Linked DNA regions of Homo sapiens: region 2 is linked to region 1. Evidence: promoter capture Hi-C in human tissues and cell types (Jung and others, 2019). All regions are on one chromosome and are shown on one strand. The core of a region is centred on a gene start or on the middle of the fragment in contact, and the rest is flanking DNA. Distances in the headings are between cores, read along the strand shown.

What was found. The method cuts DNA at HindIII sites, captures the fragments that hold promoters and counts their contacts. A contact is called where the count stands out against the background at its distance.
Region 2: a contact is called between a fragment that was not itself captured here and the fragment with the promoter of ITGAE in region 1, in 1 of the 25 tissues and cell types used here (aorta).

What each region holds. Positions count from the first base shown.
Region 1 is chr17:3,797,996-3,805,937 of GRCh38, reverse strand. ITGAE (integrin subunit alpha E) reads left to right here and starts at 4,750. Exons shown (of 31, transcript NM_002208.5): 1 at 4,750-4,827. The coding sequence starts at 4,794. It overlaps NCBP3 (nuclear cap binding subunit 3), which reads left to right. Exons shown (of 13, transcript NM_001114118.3): 13 at 1-3,780. RefSeq lists enhancers at 6,974-7,023, 7,034-7,093, 7,274-7,942. The HindIII fragment of the contact is 9,203 bases long and covers 198-7,942 here.
Region 2 is chr17:3,861,158-3,869,099 of GRCh38, reverse strand. It overlaps CAMKK1 (calcium/calmodulin dependent protein kinase kinase 1), which reads left to right. Exons shown (of 16, transcript NM_032294.3): 15 at 3,089-3,192; 16 at 6,817-7,942. The coding sequence ends at 6,889. Among named protein-coding and RNA genes, the nearest start is that of NCBP3, 19 kb to the right of the region's middle. RefSeq lists enhancers at 304-803, 804-1,305. The HindIII fragment of the contact is 6,509 bases long and covers 1,067-7,575 here.

The sequences.
Region 1 (7,942 bases), core at 3,501-6,000:
GTGGCTGGGGCCGGGGCTCTGGGGACTCCTTCTGCCCCACATACTCAATTGGAAAGACTGAGCAAGTCCCCTCACCTCCCTGGGCCTCAGCTTCCCTGTCTGTCAAATGGAGGGCTCAACTGGGGTGAGCTCCAGTTTCCTTCTAGTGCTAACGCGTGTTCAAGGATCCTTGCTCTCCTTTCCGGGGAGCATCAGGGGTGTGGGCTAGATAGCAGGAAAGAAGTAGGGGTTTGTAAACAAGAGATCCAAGCCCCTGGACCCTTGGTCCCAGCACCCAGTGCAGCCCTCGCCCTCCCAGCCCCTTCCTTAGAAAGGACAAGAAAATCCACTCCTTGTTCTCTCCCTGTCCCATCACCCCCGCAGTCCCCCACAGATCTGAGGCCGGAGGATGCCAACATGGTGAGCACCCTCTTGCTGTCTTATTCACGTAGGCTTTTCTTGGTGCCTGCACATGGCTCTTGTAAGGCCACCAATCTTGCTGGATTATGACCTCATCTAACCTTAATTACTTCCTAAAAGCCATATGTCCAAGAAGAGCCACATTGGGGGTTAGGGCTTCAACATATGAATTTGGAGGACATTTACAGTTCAGTCCACAGCACCTGGTCATGTGGAGATCCCAGTCTGCATTTGTGGGATGAAATCTCTGCTTTTTTAAAGTTTACACACCACCTAGCTGGGCACGTGGCTCACACCTGTAGTCTCAGCACTTTGGGAGGCCGAGGCGGGGATCACCTGATGTCAGGAGTTCGAGACCAGCCTGGCCAACATGGTGAAACCCCGTCTCTACTAAAAATACAAAAATTAGCCGGGTGTGGTGGCGGGCACCTGTAGTCCCAGCTACTCGGGAGGCTGAGGCAGGAGAATCGCTTGAACCCAGGAGGCAGAGGTTGCAGTAAGCTGAGATTGTGCCACTGCACTCCAGTCTGGATGAAAGAGCAAGACTCCATCTCAAAAACAAAAATAAAAAAAGTCTACACACCAAAAGAGCTGAAGGCAGGAGAGTTTGTGGTGGTTCAGAGTCCTGATTCTGGAGGAAACAGGCCTGTTTGGAGTCCCAGCTCTGCTCCTTACTAGCTATGTGGCCTCTCAGAGGCAGCATCCTTATCTGAGAAATCGGGTTGACCTTGTAGGTGGCTGAGAGGCTCAGATGAGGGCTCGCATGTGAGGCCTTGGCACTGAGCAGGGCACTCCTACCGAGTGTTCAAAGGTCGTGAGTACCACTGCTCTGCAGCCCTGGGCTCTGGTCTCAGCAATGCCGTCACTCTTTCTGGCTTCCTAAGAGTCAGAAGGCAAGTGGGAGAATAGAACCATTTCCTGTGTCTGAAGGCTGTGCCTCAGTGCTTTTGACTCACTCTGAAGACAGCAGGCAGCCCTTTCTGTTTTTTTTGGAGATGAAGTCTTGCTCTTGTCGCCCAGGCTGGAGTGCAATGGCGCAGTCTCGGCTCACTGCACCCTCCGCCTCCCAGGTTCAAGCAATTCTCCCACCATAGCCTCCCGAAGCTGGGGCTACAGGCACACGCTGCCACGCCTGGCTAATTTTTTGTGTTTTTAGTAAAGACAGGGTTTCACCATGTTGCCCAGGCTGGTCTCAAACTCCTGAACTCAGGCGATCCGCCTACCTCGGCTTCCCAAAGTGCTGGGATTACAGGTGTCAGCTACCACGCCCGACCCACAGGCAGCCCTTTCACCTCACGCCGAGCACGTCTCCTCCATCCATGAACATTTTGCAACTTTTTTTTAAAGAGACAGGTTCATACTATGTTGTCTAGATTGGACTCAAACTCCTGGGCTCAAGCTTTCCCAAGTAGCTTGAACCTCTTAAGTAACTGTGACTACAAGTGCACCTGGCCACTTTTTCTGAGACGGAGTCTCGCTCTGTCACCCAAGTGGAGTGCAGTGGCATGATCTCCGCCCACTGCGAGCTCCGCCTCCTGGGTTCACGCCATTCTCCTGCCTCACCCTCCTGAGTAGCTGGGACTACAGGCACCCGCCACCACGCCTGGCTAATTTTTTTTGTATTTTTAGTAGAGACCGGGTTTCACCGTGTTAGCCAGGATGGTCTCGATCTCCTGACTTTGTGATCCGCCCGCCTCGGCCTCCCAAAGTGCTGGGATTACAGGCGTGAGCCACCGCGCCTGGCCCACCTGCCCATTTTTTAAAAACTTTATTCTTCCTGGTATCAAGGGGAGAAAGAAAAAAATTTTTTAAAATATTTAAAACTTTATTTTGAAATAATTTCAAAATCACAGCAGTTTGAAGGGTACAACAAAGAACATTTTGCCACATTTTCTCTTTCATTCGTTCCCTCCTCTTCTCCCTCACCCCTGTTTCTTCCTATCCTCTCTGAACCATGAACCATTTGAGGATTATTTGTATACATCATGCTCGTTTATCCGTAAGATGTTTTAGTGAACATTTCCCAAGAACAGGGACAGCCTCTCACATGCCCATGGTACAGTTCTCAAATTCAGGAAATGTGTAATATTCTCTGATCAGCCCAGGAGTTGCTAATTTGTAGTTCCTGTTTCAAATTTGCCAACTGTCCCAATAATGATTTTGAAAGCCGTTGTTTTTCTGGTCCAGGATCCAATCCAGGATCAAGCGCTGCCTTTAGTTGTCCTCTCTGCAGCCTCCTTTCGTTTGGAGCAGGTCCTCAGCCTTTCTGTCTTTCATGACATTGATGTTTGTGAAGAGTACAGTCCAGTTTCTGTTGTAGAACGTCCTTGAAGTTGGTCCCGGAATATTTGTTTAAAGTGAGTTGGGAAACCACATTCACATGTCTTTTGGTTATGTGTGTATTTGTCAAACAGCCAGCCTTGTGCTGCGTGCTGTGATGGGGAGCATTACTCAACAGAGCCTGGCCCTGACCTTGGGGATGTAGTTTGGGTTTGTGGGGAAAGCAGCTACCGCCAGGTGGGCTTTACGGACCCCTGTGTGTCTCATGACTAGAGGCACTGACGCTTGGATAAATACATACTGGATGGATGCAGGATGAGTCCGCATTCTAGAAGTGTGCAGAGGTACAGAAGTGGCCCTGCTCCCTGTCCAGCACCCAGTCATCAGCTTTCCCTGGCTTCCCGAGGCACCCTGACGTTCACACTCCAAACACAAAGTCTTCTCTCAGGAATCTCGAGTGAGCTGCAGTCTGGGTTCTAGCCCTGCCCTAGCAGGGATCTGCTCAGTGACTGGGCTGCTCTCTTCCTGCTTTAGGCCAATGCGGGGGAGAGGAGACCACTGTGACTCTCCCCAGTGCCCTTGGAGCGCAGAATGAAGTGAGGGGAGGAGGAGGGTCACGAGCCCTGGAGCGCTGGGAAGACAGGCTGTAGGCCGCAGGCCCCGATCCTGCCTGGGACGAGGTTCAACAGAAGTAGGATGGTTTCATCATGACCTGGCAGGAAAACCACCAGACCTGGAATTTTGCTTTTACAACTGTTTAACTTCTGTTTCATACAGGATGGAAACCGGTGAATTGTAATCTCACATAACCGAGCAAGATCTAGTAGTCATAAGCACTTTGTCAGAGCAAAGCAGACAAGGCAAAGTGTTGGAAATGTCATCGGATCTTCACAGAACCTTAGCCAAGCAGCCTTTCAATGCGAGAAACAAAATAACATGGATTTTTATCTAGTAATGAAGTCAACACCATTGTCCACCCTGGGTTAACACATTCACATCTCAAAGCGAATGGGGCTGCAGACACTCGTGTTAGAGAGCCTTGGAATGTCCTGCCTTTTTACGTTTAATTAAAATTAAATAAAATATACAAAATTCAGTTCATCAGTTGTTCTAGTGGCATTTTAAGGGTTTAGTACCATATGTGGCTCATGAGTACCATCCTGGACAGCGTCGACCTAGAGCAGTTCCATCCCCGCGCAGAGTTCTGTTTGACGGCGCCACTCTGCACTTCCAGCAGCCTGGGGAGCAGGGGTGCAGGAGAGTTCCTTCTGTGTCACAGACTTGGTCACACAGTACAGATCTCAGATCAGCACTTAAACACGACTGCCAGCTGTCAACGGCGTGTTCTGTGGAATGCTGGGATGCATCACAGGTATGCTGGAAGATGTATAGAATTTTACTTCTGTTATTCTGGTAACTCAGAGTCCTGTTCAGTCAGTTTCCACGTCAGGTTGCTGTCCTGGTTTTAAAGAGAATGAACGCAGCCGAAGTTGAATCGAGGCAGTGATTTCACTCAGTGCGTTGGGTCTTTCCACTCACCTGGCCCTCCAGAACCCCAGGGCCTTGAGTGCATGGGCTGGTACAAGAGCCCAGTTTTTGGCTGGGGAGGCACTTCCTATGGGAGGGGGACGCCTGTCTCAGTGCTGAGGCAACCACCACCGAGGACCCTGGGCTGGAAGCTGGGCTGAGATGTCTGGTGGTAGGTTCTGAGGCAGGACAGGGGACCGACTCAAATGGATGATACGAACGGCAGGCTGGATTCACGTTGCTCCTGCACCTCCAGCATCTGCTGAGGACACCTAGAACTGTGGCCCTGGCCAAACCTCAGCTCCCTATTCCATGAAAGTGTGGGTCAAAGTGTGGGTGGTAGAGTGGGGCTGACAGTGGCCCCTAAGCTCCTAGGGTCCAGCCCACAACTGAGGAAGCCACACGGCTGGTTGTGTACGAGCCGGAGTGTCTCTGTTTGGTTGAAAGTGCCGGTCTGTGGGTCCTTGCTGGTGTGTGTGCTTCTGTCCCCGCCTCCTGGCCTCCTGGCTGAGGGGAAGCTGAGTGGGCCACGGCCCATGTGTCGCACTCGCCTCGGCTCCCACACAGCCGCCTCTGCTCCAGCAAGGATGTGGCTCTTCCACACTCTGCTCTGCATAGCCAGTAAGTCCTCTCACCCGCTGCTTCGAGGGGCTGCTGTGCCCTCAGCTCCAGCCAGGTGTCTGCAGACTACAGCCTTGACTGTCTGTCTCTGATGGGGCTCAGTTAGAGCCAGAGGTTAGAGAGTGGCAGCTCCTCCAGGAAAGGAGTCTTGCTCGGTGGGTCAGGGCCCCAGGCTTGTTGGGAAGGGCGGCTGAGGCTTCGTGTTGCCAGTTCTGTCAGCCAGGGCCTTTGGACTCCAGGGCTCTGCCATTCTGTTCCTCCTCCAGCCAGCCTCCCCCCGCCACCGAGGCCCTCTCCCCATGGCACCCACTTGGGGCAGGTCCTTGACTCTGTAGTTTGTTCTCTGAGTGTGGAGGCTCCGCCTGGCAGAGCTCCCTTCTGTTACAGAGCAGGGGTTGGGCTGATGAGGGTGAGGACCCTGTGAGAGAGTGTTGACCAGAGACTGGGGGCAAGTGTCTGTATGGTAGAGGGTGTGAGTGTTGGCAGGGAGCCTGCTTCCTGTGTTGTCAGGCCCAGGGTAAAAACTGGAATGTGGGGTGGGGGGAGGCACTTCTGCTGCCTGGGGGGTCCCATTTTAGCCTTTAACTGTCCCATGGAAGCCTCTGGGCAAGCCAAGCCATGAGTCCTTTCGGGGGCCCCCTGTGATGAGACAGCACGGTCAGGTGAGCCCCTGGAGGCTGCTAAGATTAAGCCGGAGGCCAGGGTGGTCCTGCCTAGTGATCTGAGCAGACTTCCCATGGGTCTCCTGCCCCTGCTCAGGAGGTTGGCCGGAGAATTGGATGGGCATCAAGCTTATGTGGATGAAAGGCTCCTGGTAGCTGAGTTCTCCCTGAAAGATGGGCTGAGGCTGTGCTGGGAGGGGACTTGGGATTAGCATCCCACCTGGGGCCAGATCACCCAGGAAGCAGGCCACAATGTGTAGGGTACCAGCAAGGAACACGTTTTTGGACAGATTTTAATATTTTATATTTCATTTTATTTTATTTTATTTTTTGAGACAGAGTCTTGCTCTGCTGCCCAGGCTGGAGCCCAGGCTGGATCTTGGCTCACCATAACTTCTGCCTCCCAGGTTCAAGCAGTTCTCCTGCCTCAGCCTCCCGAGTAGCTGGGATTACAGGCGCCTGCCACCACGCCTGGCTAATTTTTGTATTTTTAGTAGAGACAGGGTCTCACCATATTGGTCAGGCTGGTCTCCTGCCCTCAGGTGATCGACCTGCCTCGGCCTCCCAAAGTGTTGGGACTACAGGCATGAGCCACCTTGCCCGGCCTAATATTTTATATTTCAAAAACATCAGAATAGTCACCATGGAAAGGTCAACAGTTTGTTGAACTTCCTTTTATTTTACAATTTAGACTTCTCTGTTTTTAGTTACATGTGGGGTGTGGAGAGAGTCTCACTCTTTTTATGGCTTGTGGCTTTGATCTCCCATTACCAAGAATATCTGGAGCAGATGCTTAGACTAGACTCTTGTCTACCCTCTCCCAGTACAGAGGAGGTGACTGGGGCACAGAGCGGGCAGTGACTACCCAGGCTTGCAAGCAACTGATAATAGACACGAGGCTCAAGCCCAGGCCTCTGTCCTGCCTCCCAGCTCCAGAATACTCCTGTGGCTCATCTGTCTCCTTTAGCCTCTGAGACCACCACCCATCACCTCAGTGCCTTTTCCAGCAGGTGGCATCGATCAAACCTCTTTTGAGGCCTAGGCCCTTCCCAAGCTGATGGGCAGCAGAGAGCGATGATGGAGCAGACTTGCCATGAGACCACTTAGCCCACAGCTCAGCTCAGCCACGGGAAGGGGACCAGAGCAGGGCCCCCGCAGCTCCGGTGTGGGTGGCGGAAACGAGGCTGCTGCAGTTCTGCTCCATGCTGTGAGGTCCTGAGACTAGGATGGGCCAGTCCAGGAGAGTTTCCTGGAGGAGGTGAGGTGGCGTTGAGTCTTGGGGGCTGAGGAGAGTCTGAGAAAGAAAATGTCCAGGAGATGCTGGGAGGAAGAACTCCCTCAGACTGTGGCTCCAGGCCCAGCACCCTGTACCCTGTGCCGGGTTGGGCCTCCTTAGGCTGGAGAGAATCCAGGACTGGCCTGGCCTGGCCCTGACCTTCCACTCTCTCCAGGCCAGCCACTCTGGTGATGCCTACTTCTTATTTGTGGCAGCAGACGGAATAATAGCAGTTGTCTAAGGGAGATTTTAGAAGCATTGGGTGCAGACAGACACTGAAACCCTGGAACTGTCCACACCCTGACCACCAGCCCCATCATGCCCTCTTACCCTGTGGCCTGCTGTCCCCAAGTCAGTCTTCACCCCTGACTCATTCTGCAGTCACATCAACTCACTTCTCCATCCTGGGTCTCAGAGGTTGAGTTTCCACCCTTGCGTGAAGAAGCCTGTCCTGTCAGCCTACAACACCTTACAGGGGTGAAGAAGAAGGAACCAGAAGTCCAGGGCCCGCTCTGCTGGTGGCACGCACTCGGGCTGAGGCCAGGGGCTGTGCCGGGGCATCACCCCGGGCCTGTGCGTGATAGAAAACCTCAGTCCTTGGGGAGTGGGAGACTGTAGCATCTGAGGTGGGCTCTGAAGGACGGGGAGGTCCTTGGCAAGTACAGGCTGGGGGTGAGCAGAGGGGCCTTCTGTGCAGGGGGGATAGGAGGGACCAAGCCCTGGGGTGTGAAGAGTCTGGTTTGTAGGAAGATGGAGGCGAAGTGTGAGTGGGAGCAGGAGATTGTCTCCTCTGGTGTTGCTTTCCCTTCCAGCCCCGCCCCAAATCGGGACATGCTGGGCCCTGGAGGTGCGGGCAGAGGCGAGGCCACCCCTATCCCAGCCCCTGTGTGAAGAGAAGGCAGGTTGTGCACACAGTAGCCTCCCCGGCCCCGGCAGGGTGTCACAGCACGGGGGTAGGGAAGGGGCACTCCAGGCAGAGGGGCAGCCCAAGCAAAGGTGAAATGCCCCCGGAATGCAGTGTGTGGGGGAGAGCTGGCTGGGGGAGTGTGGGCCGTGTGGGAGCCCCACATCCCTGCCCTTCTCTGGGAGGCCTGCATTCGTGTGGCAGGTGTGGTATAAGTGGAGGAATGCGGGCATCCAGTCCCGAGAGGCCCACGGTGGAGGTGGTGAGGAACGT
Region 2 (7,942 bases), core at 3,072-5,571, 64 kb before region 1:
CTACTCGGGAGGCTGAGGCAGGAGAATGGTGTGAACCCGGGAGGTGGAGTTTGCCGTGAGCCGAGATCGCGCCACTGCACTCCAGCCTGGGCCACAGAGCGAGACTGCGTCTCAAAAAAAAAAAAAGAAGAAAAGAAAAGAAAGAAATACCGGGCGCGGTGGCTCACGCCTGGAATCCCAGCACTTTGGGAGGCCGAGGCGGGTGGATCACGAGGTCAGGAGATCGAGACCATCCTGGCTAATACGGCGAAACCCCACCTCTACTAAAAATACAAAAAAATTAGCCGGGCGCAGTGGTGGGCACCTGTAGTCCCAGCTACTGGGGAGGCCGAGGCAGGAGAATCGCTTGAACCTGGGAGGTGGAGGTTGTAGTGAGCCAAGATCACGCCATTGCACTCCAGCCTGGTTGACAGAACGAGACTCCATCTCAAAAAAAAAAAGAAAGAAATAGATGGCCCTTGCTCAGCGGCAGCAGTCACCGTGACTGGAAGAAGCATTTCATTCCGTCCAGACAGTTACTGAGCTTCCGTTCTCCAGGCACTGCACAAGGTGCCGAGGACAAGGCAGGGGAACGGCCTGGGCAGCCTTTGGATTGGAGGAGTGGCCCCAAAGCCCACGTATCAGTTAGGCGGCGCCTGCGTCTCCCCCAGAGCCCACGTATCAGTTAGGCAGCACCTGTGTCTCCCCCAGAGCCCACATATCAGTTAGATGGGCCTGCGTCTCCCCCAGCGCCCGCGTATCAATCAGGCAGTGCCTGCGTCTCCCCCAGATCCTGTGTATCAGTTAGACGGTGCCTGCATCTCCCCCGTGCCCACGTATCAGTTAGACGGCGCCTGCTTCTCCCCCAGAGCCCACGTATCAGTTAGACGGCGCCTGCTTCTCCCCCAGAGCCCACGTATCAGTTAGACGGCGCCTGCTTCTCCCCCAGAGCCCACGTATCAGTTAGACGGCGCCTGCTTCTCCCCCAGAGCCCACGTATCAGTTAGACGGCGCCTGCTTCTCCCCCAGAGCCCACGTATCAGTTAGACTGCGCCTGCTTCTCCCCCAGATCCTGTGTATCAGTTAGACGGCGCCTGCTTCTCCCCCAGAGCCCGCGTATCAGTTAGACGGTGCCTGCATCTCCCCCAGATCCTGCGTATCCATTAGACAGTGCCTGTGTCTCCCCTAGTGCCCGCTCACATTTCGGTTTTGCTCCTCTTCCTCTGCTCAGCTTCTGTGTTGGCACTTGGAAGTGATTCACATAGTCCCCCGTGGCCACCTGGGGCCACTGAGAGCCCTGCCCTGCCCCTGCCTGACAGTCAAGTGAGTCAGGGCAAGCACAAGGCCAGGAGGAGAGCCAGGGCCACTGCCGTTGGCGGGGCCTGGCCTTGCACTTTATCCCCCTCTGCAGGGTCCCGGCCCAGCTGGGACCAGCTGGCTCAATCCCTGCCCCCTATGCTTACTTGACTCTGTGGGGTCGCTGGAACCAGGCAACTCCCACGGGGTCCCCATGACCACTTGCCTGATCTTAGCCACCATCTCCTCTCTCTCAGACCACTGGAACAACCTCCCACGCTGTCCCTTGCTTCTACTCTCACTCCCTGTCCCCCTGGTCAATGCTCAACTCAGCACCCAGCATGGTCCCAGTGGCATGAGTGTGTCACCTCCCAGCTCAGAGCCTGCTTCTCACTCGGGCTGCTGTGTCCCTCAGAATCAGACCTCCAGCCTGTGCCCCACCACCCGCCCTGTTTTTCTGCGGGGCTCGTGCACCGTCCCGCCATCATGCACTCGTCTCTGGCCACGTGCCATGGAAGGGGCTGCCCCAGAGCCTTCAGACTTCGCTTCCCTCTGCCCGGGGAGTCCCACCCCCGATGGCCACGGGACTCGCTCCCTCACTTCCTTCGGCTTTTTACGCCAGGGTCCCCTCCTAGAGAGAAGCGAGCCTTCCCTGACCCTGTAGCTTCAGCCTCCCCTGCTTCACACCTCATCGCCATTCCCTTGTTTTATTTTTTCCTTTCCACTTACTGACATACATAATTTACTGATTTTTCTTCTTTACTTATCGCCTGTCTCCCCCAACTAGAATATAAGCTGTATGATGGCTGGGCGCAGTGGCTCACGCCTGTAATCCCAGCACTTTGGGAGGCCAAGGCGGGAGGATCACTTGAGGTCAGGAGTTTGAGACCAGCCTGGCCAACATGCTGAAGCCCCGTCTCTTCTAAAAATACAAAAAATTAGCCGGGTGTGGTGGTGGACGCCTGTAATCCCAGCTATTCAGGAGACTGAGGCGGAAGGATCATTTGAAGCGGGGAGGCAGAGGTTGCAGTGAGCCGAGATTGTGCCACTGCACTCCAGCCCTGGGCAACAAGAGCAAAACTCCGTCTGAAAAAAAAAAAAGGCTATATGAGGGCAGGAATTCTGGCCTCAGTGTGGCCCCAGGGCCTAGAGTAGTGGCCAGCACCCAGTAGGCAGCCAGTGGTGACCAGTGTTGACGGGATGGATGGACACAAGCGAGGGAGTGAAGGGACTGGCAAGTGTGCCGCTGCCTCTCTGCATGCGTGTGAGTCGGCGTGTCTGTGGGCACGGCATGGAACCGTCCTTGTCACGGAGGAGGGACAAAGGCAGAGAGCCAGGCTGCGGCAGCTGTTCCCCTCCTGGCAGCCCCACTGACTGGGCCACCGGCTGCGGCTCAGCCGCTTCCCGGGCCGCCCTGCAGTAGCATCTTGGCATCTTCTCGGCGGCCGGAAGGCGGGAAGGATGGCACAGCATCCCTCCATGGCATTGCTGCCGTAGCGAGAAGGTATCTTCTAATGGACTCCCACTTCCAGCCCTGGCCCTCCCCACTCTTTCAGCCTGGCCTTGCGGACCCTTCATGGGCTGGTCCCGGCCCCCTCCTCATGTACCAGTGGCATCCGGCTCCTCACCATTCCAGGAATATGCCCCCAGCTGCCAGCGCCCCGTGTTCTTGCCTCTGCCATTTCATGCTGTGCTGATTGAGATGGGACCCGCACTGCGGCCCCCTTGGCAGCTGCTCTCGGGGAATCGGAGCAGAGGCTGCGTGTCTGGGAGCCTGGGACCTGTGCTCCTCACGCTGCCTTGTCCTCCTCAGATCCTGGTGAAGTCCATGCTGAGGAAGCGTTCCTTTGGGAACCCGTTTGAGCCCCAAGCACGGAGGGAAGAGCGATCCATGTCTGCTCCAGGAAACCTACTGGTGTAAGTACTGGTGGGCCAGGGACTGCCGGGCACTCCCTGGAGTTGGGTGGGGAGGTCTGAGGCCCATCCTCCCACTCTCACTGTCGTTGGGCCAAGGCCAGAGCCTGGGGACTTGGCCAGGTCTCGGTGTTGGCCCCATTTGCATCTCTGTCCCCAAGGTTAGTCGGGGCTAGAAGGGACCTTTTGGGCCCAGCTCTTGCTTCATTCCTGGGGCCAGCATCCCTCACACACACACTTCCAGGGATGAGGAGCTCACGCAGCCCCTCCATGGGACAGGAAGACCCTTCTTCCATGCAGCTTGATGTCACTCTCTCACTGGGTCCAGCCCCTCTGGGGCTTCAAATCTGTGGCCCCCTCAGCCCTTGGCAGCCTGGCAGAGGTTTGCAGACAGGCTGATGTTGGCTTCCTGTAGGAGGCTGGCGGGCTGTAGAGGAGGGGTGCTGGCCCCTCTGCCTGGCCCTGGGGACTGTTGGCTGCTCTCCCAAGTGGCCCAGGCTGCCTGCAGCCATTGCTGGGGCTCTGTGCCCAGTCAGCACTTTGTGAGTGCTTGTTCAGTGAGTAAGCAGGGACAGGCTGGCCGGTGGACCACGGGAGAGGAACCCGCATTGGCCGAGGGCTCCCTATGGTGAGCCACGCCTGTGGGTTCACCACCTCCTAGGAGGGTCCAGAAAAGCAGCTCCCCAAGCCTGTGCGCCTCGTCCTCAGCAGATCCACCTTCTTCACTATAATAAAAGCCAGTCTGGGATGCTAATAAGGCCTGTGCTGGAGTTTGTACACAAACCTGCAGAGAGAAAACCAGTGGGGTCCTGAACCACAGCGTGGTCCTGGGACAGCCACTGCCTTCCTCTGGCCCCGGAGGGAAGCTTTGGGGAAGGGGCTGGTGGGAGTTGTTTGCCCCACCCTGGCCTGCTCTGTGTGGAAGGCGCACTCCCCAGAGGGGTGAGTGCCAGGCGCTGTCCGGGTGCCTTGGCTTCACGCTGTCACCAGGCCTGTCCGGGACCACCATGTTGGTTTCCCGTGAGGCCTCCCTCTCATAAGAGGGCCCTTCAGAAGGGTCGGGACCCCTCGTAGTGGACAAGCTGACATCTGCTCCCTGCTGGAGGTGGCTTGCACCCAGGGAGAGCCTCATAATGAGGTGGGGGGCCTGGGAGAGGCCTGGAGGTCCCAACTGCAGCTTTTCTGTCATCTCTTCAGGGAGGTGGTTGCGGTTGGGGGAGGATTCTCTGAGCTCATCCAGGAATGTAGGCCCCTGATGCTGGAATTGTGCTTAGTGTAGGGGGAGAGGGGGCATATATAATTTGACGTCCAAATGGGGACATTTTTGAGAGTGAAAGGGGAAGCCATTAATAATTATGCCAGCACGGCCGGGTGCGGTGGCTCACGCCTGTAATCCCAGCACTTTGGGAGGCCGAGGCGGGTGGATCACAGGGTCAGGAGATCGAGACCATCCTGGCTAACACGGTGAAACCCCGTCTCTACTAAAAATACAAAAAATCAGCTGGGCGTGGTGGCGGGCACCTGGAGTCCCAGCTACTCAGGAGGCTGAGGCAGGAGAATGGCGTGAACCCGGGAGGCAGAGCTTGCAGTGAGCCAAGGTCACGCCACTGCACTCCAGCCTGGGCGACAGAGTGAGACTCCGTCTCAAAAAATAATAATTATTATGCCAGCATGGTGGCTCATGCCTATAATCCCAGCACTTTGGGAGGCCAAGGCAGGATTGCTTGAGGCCAGGAGTTCAAGACCAGCCTGGGCAACATAGCAAGACCCCATCTCTAAAAAAAAAAAAAATTAGCCGGGCGTGGTGGTGGGTGCCTGTAGTCCCAGCAACTCAGGAGGCTGAGGTGGGAGGATTGCTTGAGTCTGGGAGGTGGAGGTTGCAGTGAGCTGAGATTGCACCACTGTACTCCAGCCTGGGTGACAGAGCCAGACCCTGTCTCAAAAAAAAAAAAGAAAAAAAAGTAATAATAATTATGCCAGGACAGCAGGTGGACGGACACCTGGTCCTTCTGACTCAGAGCCTGTGGTCCAGCACCCCCTAGTGGTGGAACAAGCCAGACACAGGATAAGGATACATTTAGTGTCTAGTTTGTACCTGGCAAACAGAGTGACAAGATTGGGCTTAATACTTTCCAGCTATAAAATTCTAGAATTCTGTGACCCAAGTTTAATTTGGGGTAGAGCTTTTTAAAAAAAAAATAGAGATGGAGTCTTGCCATGTTGCCCAGGCTGGACTTAAACTCCTGGCCTCAAGCCATTTGCCCACCTTGGCCTCCGAAAGTGCCAGGTGATTACAGGCATGAGCCACCACACCCAGCCTCCACGTTTAACTTTGAAAGAAGATTTTACTTCATCATCAAGTCCCAATATTTATCCTTGATAGACTGCTTTGGTTTTTTGTTTGTTTGTTTTGAGATGGAGTTTCACTCTTGTTGCCCAGGCTGGAGTGCAGTGGCGCAAACTCAACTCACTGCAGTCTCCGCCTCTCACATTCAAGCAGTTCTCTTGCCTCAGCCTCCCAAGTAGCTGGGATTACAGGTGCATGCCACCACCACACCGGCTAATTTTTGTATTTTTATTAGAGACGGGATTTCACCATTTTGGCCAGGCTGGTCTCAAACTCCTGACCTCAGGTAATCTGCCCACCTCAGCCTCCCAAAGTGCTGGGATTACAGGCGTGAGCCACTGTGCCCGGCCATAGAGTTTTTTATACTTTGGGATAATTGTAGAAACTCAGTAGTAGAGTTAAGTGGAGTTGGTCCTTTTTAAAGATATCAAAACCCATTTACTGGTTATTTTAAAAAGAGACATTTTGGGAGGAAAACTAGATATAGAAATCTGTTGAATATGTGACAGAATCCCAAGACTGATAGATGGACTCTGCCCTGTGAACAAGGCAAAGAAAAATGCAAAATGAAAGCCTCTCTACCCAGATCTGCTGGGGGATGACTGAGGTCAACACAGAAGGCCCTCAGGCCGGGCACGGTGGCTCACGCCTGCAATCCCAACACTTTAGGAGGCTGAGGTGGATGGATCGCTTGAGCCCAGGAGTTTGAGACCAGCCTGGGCAACATGGTGAAACCCTGTTTTTATAGAGATAAAAAAATACAAAAATTAGCTGGGCGTGGTGGCATGTGCCTGTAGTCTCAGCTACTCAGGAGGCTGAGGTGGGAGGATCGCTTGAGCCTGGAAGGCAGAGGTTGCAATGAGCTGAGATTGCACCACTGCACTGCAGCCTGCACGACAGAGCGAGACGCTGTCTCAAAACAACAACAAAACCACACACACAGAGAGAAGGCCCTTGATTAGGCTGATAGTTGGAGGATGTAGGGAAGTCAGCTGGGTCAGACTGTGAGCAGCTCCAGAGGCCGTGCTGGGAGGTTTAGACTTCATCTCTGGTCAATGGGGGGCCACGGAGGCGTTGCGGGCTGAGACTGGGGGCTGAGAGACCGGCAAGGAGCAACTGCCGTGATGTAGGGAGGCCAGAGGGAGGCCAAGCTTGGGGCAGTGGGTGAAGGGGGCTTTGAGAGATGTGGGATTCAGATTCCTGTGTGTGTGAGGGAGAGTGTCTCCCTGAGTGCATATTCTGACCCTGAGGTCCCTCTGTCCCTGGTGTCCCCTGAACAGGAAAGAAGGGTTTGGTGAAGGGGGCAAGAGCCCAGAGCTCCCCGGCGTCCAGGAAGACGAGGCTGCATCCTGAGCCCCTGCATGCACCCAGGGCCACCCGGCAGCACACTCATCCCGCGCCTCCAGAGGCCCACCCCTCATGCAACAGCCGCCCCCGCAGGCAGGGGGCTGGGGACTGCAGCCCCACTCCCGCCCCTCCCCCATCGTGCTGCATGACCTCCACGCACGCACGTCCAGGGACAGACTGGAATGTATGTCATTTGGGGTCTTGGGGGCAGGGCTCCCACGAGGCCATCCTCCTCTTCTTGGACCTCCTTGGCCTGACCCATTCTGTGGGGAAACCGGGTGCCCATGGAGCCTCAGAAATGCCACCCGGCTGGTTGGCATGGCCTGGGGCAGGAGGCAGAGGCAGGAGACCAAGATGGCAGGTGGAGGCCAGGCTTACCACAACGGAAGAGACCTCCCGCTGGGGCCGGGCAGGCCTGGCTCAGCTGCCACAGGCATATGGTGGAGAGGGGGGTACCCTGCCCACCTTGGGGTGGTGGCACCAGAGCTCTTGTCTATTCAGACGCTGGTATGGGGGCTCGGACCCCTCACTGGGGACAGGGCCAGTGTTGGAGAATTCTGATTCCTTTTTTGTTGTCTTTTACTTTTGTTTTTAACCTGGGGGTTCGGGGAGAGGCCCTGCTTGGGAACATCTCACGAGCTTTCCTACATCTTCCGTGGTTCCCAGCACAGCCCAAGATTATTTGGCAGCCAAGTGGATGGAACTAACTTTCCTGGACTGTGTTTCGCATTCGGCGTTATCTGGAAAGTGGACTGAACGGAATCAAGCTCTGAGCAGAGGCCTGAAGCGGAAGCACCACATCGTCCCTGCCCATCTCACTCTCTCCCTTGATGATGCCCCTAGAGCTGAGGCTGGAGAAGACACCAGGGCTGACTTTGACCGAGGGCCATGGACGCGACAGGCCTGTGGCCCTGCGCATGCTGAAATAACTGGAACCCAGCCTCTCCTCCTACACCGGCCTACCCATCTGGGCCCAAGAGCTGCACTCACACTCCTACAACGAAGGACAAACTGTCCAGGTCGGAGGGATCACGAGACACAGAACCTGGAGGGGTGTGC